Linked DNA regions of Homo sapiens: region 1 is linked to region 2. Evidence: promoter capture Hi-C in human tissues and cell types (Jung and others, 2019). All regions are on one chromosome and are shown on one strand. The core of a region is centred on a gene start or on the middle of the fragment in contact, and the rest is flanking DNA. Distances in the headings are between cores, read along the strand shown.

The links. The method cuts DNA at HindIII sites, captures the fragments that hold promoters and counts their contacts. A contact is called where the count stands out against the background at its distance.
Region 1: a contact is called between a fragment that was not itself captured here and the fragment with the promoter of HNRNPF in region 2, in 1 of the 25 tissues and cell types used here (dorsolateral prefrontal cortex).

What each region holds. Positions count from the first base shown.
Region 1 is chr10:42,543,890-42,548,674 of GRCh38, forward strand. It overlaps the pseudogene ZNF37BP. Among named protein-coding and RNA genes, the nearest start is that of LINC00839, 71 kb to the left of the region's middle. The HindIII fragment of the contact is 4,235 bases long and covers 1-3,620 here.
Region 2 is chr10:43,405,699-43,410,514 of GRCh38, forward strand. HNRNPF (heterogeneous nuclear ribonucleoprotein F) reads right to left here and starts at 3,488. Exons shown (of 4, transcript NM_001098204.2): 1 at 3,433-3,488. RefSeq lists silencers at 1,458-1,827, 3,108-3,227, 3,678-3,907 and enhancers at 1,998-2,057, 2,198-2,247, 2,215-2,818, 2,258-2,597, 3,328-3,387. The HindIII fragment of the contact is 13,159 bases long and covers 1-3,742 here.

The DNA.
Region 1 (4,785 bases), core at 253-2,752, 860 kb before region 2:
TGCACTTTGTTTTCAGAGAACTGTAGTTGTGTGTTTTGATCTGTCTATGCGGGCTCTCTGAAGAAGTGGCTCACAGGCTTGTCTTTGTTTTGCCTGCCTTGGAACTTTCTCAGGGCTAGTCTTCCAGGAAGTGCTAGTTGAAAGCATTTAAAGGCAATTATCTGGCCTCAGCAGCCAGATGAGAAAAGCAGCAGATGGACTGATAAAACTGGGAGTGGAAAAACTGGGAAGGAAATACATGGGGGCCGGGGTGGGGATAAGGGGTTTGAAAAGCTCCTGCATAAACCAGGGAATTGAGGTCATGTGCAAGGCCAGGGCAATATGCACGCTCACAAAAAACCTGAGAGGAACCTAAGCTTTCAGTCTGGTTGACCTTCAGGCTCAGTGTAAGCAGGAAGTAAAGCTTTACACAGAGATGTAAATGGCCTGGCAAACCATTACAAGAGCGCCCTAAAACAGGGCAAATATGCAAAGACCAGAATAGTTTTTTGTTTTGTTTTGGCTTTGGGCATTTAAAGAAATCTCTGTCAGATCACAAACTGACCACTAAACTAAGGGAACAGAGGTTTCTGTGACCATGTACAACAAAGAACTTTACAAAAATAGTTTTGAAAAGTCACAAAATAAACAAACAATGCAAAATAAACAGCAACAACAAATTCTGGGGAAAAGAATCTGATTTCTAGAATTAACACATTTTAATATTCAAAATGTTCAGTTTTCAATAAAAAATTATGAGGAATGCAAAGAAGATAATATGACCCACAGACACACAGAAAAAAGAAATGAATAAAACCTGTCCTCAAAGACACCTTTGTTATTGGTCTTACTAGATAAAGAATTTAAATCAACTGTTCTAAATGTGCACAAAAAGCTAAATGAAACCAGACAACTAACAGAAAGCAGGTGAGCGATGCCCTGCCAAATATAAAATATTAATATACAGAACAAAATTACAAAAATGTAATTAGGAATGTCTGGAGCTGACAAGTACAAAAACTAAATTTTTTTAAAATCAGTCAAAGGATTTAATAAAAGATTGGAGCTCAAAGAGAACAAAGAATCAGCAAAATTGAAGACACTGATGGAGATTACTCATTCTGTGGAGCAGAGAAAAAGAATGGTGAAAAATGGACAGTGCCTAAGAGATCTATGAGACAACATCAAGCATACCAACAAGTTAATAACAAGAGTTGCTAATGAAGAGGAGAAAAGGGAACCAAAAATATCTGAAGAAATAATGTCTGAAGACCTTCTAAACTGATGAAAGACATGAATCTCTATGCCCAAGACTCTCAAGAAACTATAATTAGGATAAGCTCAAAGAACTTCAAACTGAGAGAAATAATAAATTGTCACAAGACAAAGAATCTCAAAAGTAGCAAGAGATAAGGGACTAACCATGTACAAAGGATCTGAAATAAGATTAACAGCCAGACTTTTATTAGGAACCATGAAGGCCAGAGGCAGTAGGATAATGGCACCTTTCAAGTGCCAAAAGAAAAAAAATATATATCAAAAATTCTACATTTGGCAAAACTGCCTTTCAAAAATGAAAGAGAAATTAAAACATTCCTAGATCAACAGAATCTGAGAGAATTTATTAGTACTAGATCTGTCCTACAAGAAATGCAAAAGGAAGTCCTTAAGGTTGAAACAAAAGGACATTAGACAGTAACTCCAATCGAAACACACAAAAAATTCAAATGGTAAAAGTAACTACTGTAAGTAAATGCAAAAGCCAGTCTTATTGTATTCTTGGCTTTTATGTTCTCTCTTTTTTCTATATGATTTAAAAGACAAATACATAAAACAATAATTATAAATCTATGGTAATGTGCACGCTATTTATGAAGGCATAAAATGAGACAATAAGAAGACAAAGGACAGGGACAAAGCCGTATAGGAGGAGAGTTTTTATATAATATTAAGGCTTAGTTAGTATTAATGCAAGCTAGATTGTTATAAATTCAAGATGCTAATTGCAATTCCAAGTATTAACACTAGGTAAATAATGACTACAAACAAATACAAAAGGAATTAAAATGGCACATTAGAAAAAAACAAACACAAAAGAAGGCATACACAGAAAAACTGAAAACAAAAAAGATGTAATACGTATGGAAAACAAATAGCAAAATGGTATAAGTCCTTTATCAGTTTATAATTTACTCTAAATGTAAATAAACTAAACTCCCAACTAAAAGACAGAAATTGGCAAAATAGGCTGGGCATGGTGGCTTACACCTGTAATCCCAGCACTTTGGGAGGCTGAGGTGGGCGGATCACGAGGTCAGGAGTTTGAGACCAGCCTGACCAATACAGTGAAACCCCATCTCTACTAAAAAAAAAAAAAAAATACAAAAATTAGCCAGGTGTAGTGGTGTACACCTGTAATCCCAGCTACTCGGGAGGCTGAGGCAGAAGAACTGCTTGAACGCTGGAGGCAGAGGTTGCAGAGAGTCAAGATCGCACCACTGCACTCCAGCCTGGGTGATGCAGTAAGACTCTGTCTCAAAAAAAAAATAAAATAAAATAAATAATAAAAATAAAAATAAATTGGCAAAATAAATAAAAATATATGATCCAGGTATATATTGTCTACAAGACACTCTCTTTAGATACAAACACACAACACAATAGGTTGAAATTGAAATGACAGAAGAGGATAGTAACCTAAAGAATGCCAGGGTGGCTATACTGAGACAAAAGAGACTTTAAATCAAAAATTGTTACAAGAGAAAAACACTACATATTGATTAAAAAAAAAAAAAAACTAAGTCTACAAAGAAGACATAGTAACAGAAATAGAAATAAATCATCCTGAAGTTTACATAGAATTTCAAGGGATCTCAACTAGCCAAAATAATCTTGAAAACCCATGCATGTATGGTAAAATGATTTTCAACAAAGTTGTCAAGAACAGTCAATAGGGAAAGGACAATTTTTCTAACAAATAGTGTTGGTAAAACTGGATAGCCACATGCAAAACAAAACAAAAACAAAAAAATTAACTCAAAATGAATCAAAGACCTAAATCTAAGAACTAAAGGTACAAAACTCATGGCAGAACACATAGGAGAATGGATTCGTGTGGCAATGTTTTCTTGGATATAATACCAAAAACCACAGGCAACAGAAATAAAAATAAATTGGACCACATCAAACTTAAAAATTGTGCATCAAAGGACACAGTTAACTGAATGAAAAGACAACCAACACAACAGGAGGAAATATTTGCAATTCATGTATCTGATGAGGAATTAATATAAAAAATATATAAAGAACCCCTACAACTCAAAACAAACAAAATAACCTGATTCAAAGATGGACAAAGGATTTGAACAGACATTTCTCCATTAAAGATATATAAATGGTCAGCAAGCTTATGAAAATATGCTCAACATCACTGATCATTAGGGAAATACAAATCAAAACCACAGTGAAAAATTACCATACACCCATTACAATGGCTGCTATCAAAACAACAAAAGAAAATAACGAGTGTTGGCAAGGATATGGAGAAATCAGAATCCTGTACACTGAGGATGGGACTGTAAAATGGTGCACCTTCTGTAGAAAACAGGTCGGTGTTTCCTCAAGGAATTAAAAATAGAATTACCATAGGTTCCAGCCATACCACTTCTGAGTATATAACCAAAAGAACTGAAAGAAGGATCTCAAAGAATAGTTGTACCCCATGTTCACAGTAGCATTATTCACAACAGTTAAAAGGAGGAAGGAACCCAAATGTCCACTGACAGATGAATGAATAAACAAAACATGGGTACAATGAAATATCATTCAACATCAGAAAGGAGATAAATTCTGACACATGCTACAACACTGAGGAAGCTTGAGGACATTACGCTAGGTGAAATAAGCCAGTCACAATAAGACAAATACTGTATGATTTCACTTATATGAGATATAGCAAAAATAGTGAAACTCATAGAAACAGAAAGTAGGATGGTGGTTGCCAGGGGCAAGGAGGAGGGGAAAATGGGGAGTTATTGTTTAATGGGTAGAGAATTTCAATTTCCCAAGATGAAAAAATTCTGGTGATTAGATGTACAATATGAATATACTTAACACTGCTTCTGAACTGTACATCCAAAAATAGTTAAGATTGCTAAAGCAAAAAACTAACAATAAATAAAGATGCCTGCTTTGGCCACATATATTCAACATTGTACTAAAAATTTCAGCCAGAGGAATTAGGCTAAGTAAATAAATAAATAAACCCAAATTAGAAAGAAAGAAATGAAATAGTTTTGTTTGCAGATGACATGATCTTATATGCAGAAAATACTAAAGAATCCACAAAGAAACTACTAGAAGTAGGAAACAAATTCAGCAAAATTACAAGATACAAGATCAACACTCAAAAATTATTTGTGTACTCATTACAATGAGCAGTCAAAAAGCAAATTAACAATTCCACTTACAATAGCATTTAAACAAAAGAAATTTTAGGCTTGTGGGCCATCACAGTCTCTACTGCAACCAGTCAACTCTGCCCTCGTAGTGTGAAAGTACTCACAGGCTATACATAAATACATGAGTATGGCTGAGTCCCGATAAAACTTTATAGACACTGAAGTCTGAATTTCATATAATTTACGATAGCATTTAAATGAAAAACTATTTAATAAATTTAAGCAAGGATATGCAACACTTGTACACTGAAAACTACAAAATATTAATGAAGGAAAGAAGACCTAGGGAAAAAAAATCTTATGTTCATTGATTATAAGATTTAATATTAAGATAACACTCCCCAAA
Region 2 (4,816 bases), core at 2,238-4,737:
ATACTTGATATTTTGGAATGTATTTTTAGGCATGACAGCAGTATCATGGTTAGGTTTTAAAAGTTCTTAGAAATACTGCGGATTTATTTATTAATAAAGACCTTATTGGTCTGGGATTTGCTGTAAAATAAGCCAGGGCGGTCTTGGCTGAGCTCAGTTCTCCCTCTGCCCACCCTGTTGCCCTCCACAAGAACCGTAGCTCAGGGCAACTAAGACAGGGCAAGGGCCCTGGCAGGGGAGGGGTGTCCCGGTCCAACTTGGGACCCAGTTGGGACTGGGTCCCAAGTCCCAATTGTGTCCCTGGACACATGACTTCTCCCAACCTCCATTTTCTCATCTGAAACATGGGGCTAATAGCAAGCCCTTCTGGAGTAGTCCTGAGCATGTAATTAGAAAATGGAGTAAAACTTCTAGGACCTAGTAAGAGTCAACTAATGTGGTTCTCCCGAAGAGCAGAGAACCAGAGCTCAGTGGGGGAGAGGGAATTAGAGAAGTCACCTCCAAGGAAAGGGCCTGTCACATTTCTGCAGCCCCTGCAGGCATCTACCCCCACCGGGCTCTCATTTGCCTCCAGGCTTTCCAAGGTTCTGGCCACGTGGGAGAAGTAACTTTCTATTTACTCAGTCTTTTCCCTTAAATAAATTCCATTTTTTACCTGAATAAAGCTTTATAACGCTACCCTTAACAGAAAACTTGGCAGTTTACAAAAAAGTGGCCGGGCACGATGGCTCACGCCTGTAATCCCAGCACTTTGGGAGGCAGAGGCGTGAGAATCGCTTGAGCACAAAAGTTTGAAAATCAATCTGGGCAACATAAGGAGACCCCATCTCTACAAAAAATACAAAAATTTGCCGGGCGTGCTGGAGAGTGCCCGTGGTCCCAGATACTCGGCGGCTGAGGTGGGAGGATCCGTTGAGCACAGGAGGATCTCGGCAGCGAGCCGAGATCACACCATTGCACTCCAGCCTGGGCAACAAAGTGAGACCCTGTCTCAAAAAATAATACATATTTTTTTATAGAGACGGGGTAGGTCTCTGGGGCCCAAGCGATCCTCCCACACCTCGGCCTCCCTAAATGCTGGGATTACAGGCGTGAGCCACCTCGCCCGGCCGATAATGACTCTAATCTACAGAATGCACACCGGAATGTAATACCTACAAGGGAAAAGATCTTCTTGCTTAGGAATAAAGCAATCTCTCTCTTAATATTCATTAAAGTAGTAATGTCTTATTTTATAGTTTATAAATTCTGTGAGAGCAACGAGTCACTTTGCAGGAATAGCACTTAAGGTATCTTTCACCTACCTGGAGAACCCAAGAAATTTTCATCTTACTAGGAATTCAGAGACAACCACGTATTTAACTTTTAAAAATATAACTAAGTAGAAAGAATTATATGCGTGTATTTTTGGAAGAATTAAGATGACTTTTGGGACGGAACGACTGAAAACTACGCTTTCAGAACTCCCTGCCGCCTGAGGCTGTGGCCCTGACCCCGGCGCAGGGCCCGCCCCGCGCGGTTCCGGGAAGCCGCCGCCGCCGCCCGTTGCCCTTCGCGCGCAGCCGCCAGCGCGCGCCTCGCGTCCCGCCACGCAGATGGCCGGCCCGAGCCCCCAGCGCCCGCGAGCAGTTTCGAGAACTAAAGAGGCGCGTCAGCTCGTCCCCGGGCCGCCCGCGGGCAATGGCCGAGCTCGGCTCTCCTTCCACCCTCCGCCGGGACACACGCGGAGCCGAGCGGGGGTCCCAGGCGCCTAGGGGGAGGGGTTCCCGCGCCCGGGGCGGCCTTGGGGGGAGGGCGAGTCGGGTGCCTTGCTCCTCAAAACCCTGGTCCACGACTCTGCGGTTGGGGGAGCCGGGCAGCCGGCGCAGCAGGAGCCGGGCCCCGTCCACAAGTTTCCTACGAGCAGGGCGGAATCGACGAAAATACTTAATACAAACAAACAAAAGGAAAAAAAAAAGGACGACTAAGCTGAAGAGCGCGCACGAGTCAGATTTTCACCCCAAATACAAACACGATACCTCTAGGAGCAGGAGACCAATACAGGGACCGCGCTCCGAGGACACGCGGCGCAGCCGAGGAGGAAAAAGGGCCCGGGGCCGAGAGCTAAGGCTACGGGAACCGGGCGTGGGAGGAGGGCGGAGCCAACTCCCCACAAGGAAGTCTTGTGCAACTCTCAGGCGCCTGCAGCCACGTGAGCGCGCGGCTTTCATTTTACTCAGGTATTATTACTATTATTACTTCTTTTGAGACAAGGTCTCATTTCCGTCGCCCGGCTGGAATGCAGTGGCACAATCACTGTCACTGCAGCCTCGACCTCAGAGCAAGCGACCCTCCCGCCTCAGCCTCCCGAGTAGCTGGGACAACAGGCGCGCGCCACCACACGTGGCTAATTTTTTTTTCTTTACTTTTCAGTAGAGACAGTCTATGTTGCCCAGGCTTGTCGGGAACTCCTGGGCTCAAGAGATCCTCCCGGCTGGGCCTCCCACTGCGCCAGGCCTGTTCTCACTTTCAGAGCCCTCCGGCAGTCGCCAGCTCCCCGCCAGGGGGCCGGACTAACGCACCCGGCCGTCCGTGCCTTCCCCGCGCTTTCCTGACTCCAAAATCTCAGCCCGCGGTGCTCACCGCGTGGGACCACTGTCTGGGCGTGCGGCTCTCGACCTCCGACGCTGCGTCTCCCGATCCCAGTGGGTCCAGTTCTTGCCGGTCCCACGTACGGGCCCCTCGACCTCGAATCCCGTCACCCAAATCTCAGCGCCACGGCCCCTCATTATGTGCAGTCCTCGCTCGGTCCCAGGTTTGCGGCGCTTAAACTCAGATCGCTCTTCCCTGATCCCAAATCCCAGCCCCAGCCCAACGATCCCCACCCCAATAGGCCCAGTCCCCAGGTAGTCCGGGTACGGGGCCCTGGACTTCGGATAGTCTCCCTAATCTCAAATCCCACCCCCCGTCCCCACCCCCAGGGGGACCCGGTCCCCGCTAGGTCCCGGGTGTGCGGCCTTCGACCTCGGAGACTTCGGCCGCCCCTCACCTCGGCCTCCGAGTCTCTACACTCCCGCTCTCATATCAGGCACCCCGGTGGTCCCTTGGAGCACCTAGAGGAGGGTGGGACGCGGGGAACTTGGCAGTTGTAGCAGAGGCAGTTGAGGCTTGTTGACCATCACCATGGAAACCCCCGCCTGCGAGCACGGGGCGGAGCCTACGAGGGGCGGGGTCAGGCGCGCTGCCGGCCCCAATCCTCAGCGCCTGCCCGTCGAGCGCACGCGGCTTTGCCGGAAGCCCTCCTGCTCCCGGCGAGCCAGGCCCCGACTAGGCCCTACTGCCCGGCTCAGCCCTTTGCCCTGGACACCAGGAAACAGAAGCCCAAGGAGCCCGCGTCCCCACCCCCTGCTACCTGCCGGCGTGACAGCGATTCGGTGGCCCCCCGAACCCCACCTTGAGGAAGACGCGGCGCAGTCCTGCTTCCACGACGGAGCCGGAAGGACGCAAGGACCGCGGCAGGGCGGAGTTTCTGCGTCCGGCGTCCGGGGGCGGGGCCGCGACGGCGCATTGTGACGCGCCAGAGCTGAGCCGCCGGTTGGCCGGCTGGGCGCGGAGCAGAGCCGACACGGCTGGCGGGGGAGGCGGTGGAGGCGGACAAGCGAGGACGTTTCTGGAGAGGAGAAGGGAGGGGAGGGGAGGGGATAGGGGGAGGGGGAGGAGGAGGAGGGAGTGGAGCGGCGGGAAAGATCCCTCTGACTGCCCCTGAGGCCCTGGAGGAAGGACACTGGTGAGCCCCGCAGGACACTGAAATGTGCGCCGAAAGGACGCCTGATGGAAGACTAGGATGGGAAAAGGAAATGAGAGCCGATGGCAGGGCGTGGTGGCGCAAGCCTGTGGTCCCAGTAATTTGGGAGGCTAAGGCGGGAGAATCGCTTGAGCCCGGGAGGTCGAGGCTGCAGTGATCCGTGACTGCTCCATTGCGTCCAGCCTGGGCGACAGAGCGAGGCGCTGTCTCAAAAAATAAAATAAGGAAAGTAGTACACTGAAGGCCGGGCGCGGTGGCTCACGCCTGTAATCCCACCACTTTGGGAGGCCGAGGCGGACGGATCAGGCGGTCGGGAAATCGAGACCATCCTGGCCAACATAGTGAAACCCCTACTAAAATACAAAAAAATTAGCCAGGCGTGGTGGCGCGCGCTTGTAGTCCCAGCCACTCGGGTGGCTGAGGCAGGGGAATCGCTTGAACCCGGGAGGCGGAGCTTGCGTGAGCCGAGATCGCGCCACTGCACTCCAGCCTAGCGACAGAGCGAGACTACGTCTCAAAGAAAAAAAAAAAAAAAAGGTACACTGAGTACTCCGGAGACCGCCTAAAGGGGTCTCAGAGCAGGGCGTTAGGAGGGATTTGTCAGGTTGAAGTTGCTCAGGTGATAAATTCCGTGGTGTGAGAAGCCCCCAAACCTCAGAATGTAACTCAGACCCAGGTCGAGGGCAAGATTTTCAGTCACAGAGCACCTGAACACACAGATTTGGTGGCTAATGGCTAAGCCAGGGACAGATTTTCTTTCTTTTCTTTTTTTTTTTGATGTATTGTAGGGCTAATAATTGTAACCATTTTATTTTGGTGGATCTTCTTCATGAAGAGATGATGTCAAGGCACTCATCACAGGTTAAGCTGAACATTGTTACTATTGTTATTATTTCCAGACTGAGTATCGCCCTGTCATTCAGGCGGGAGTGCAGTGGTACAATCACGGCTCACTGCAGCCTCGACCTCCTGGGCTCAAGCGATCCTCCTGCCTCAACCTCCTGAGTAGCACCACCACTCTCGGCTAAATTT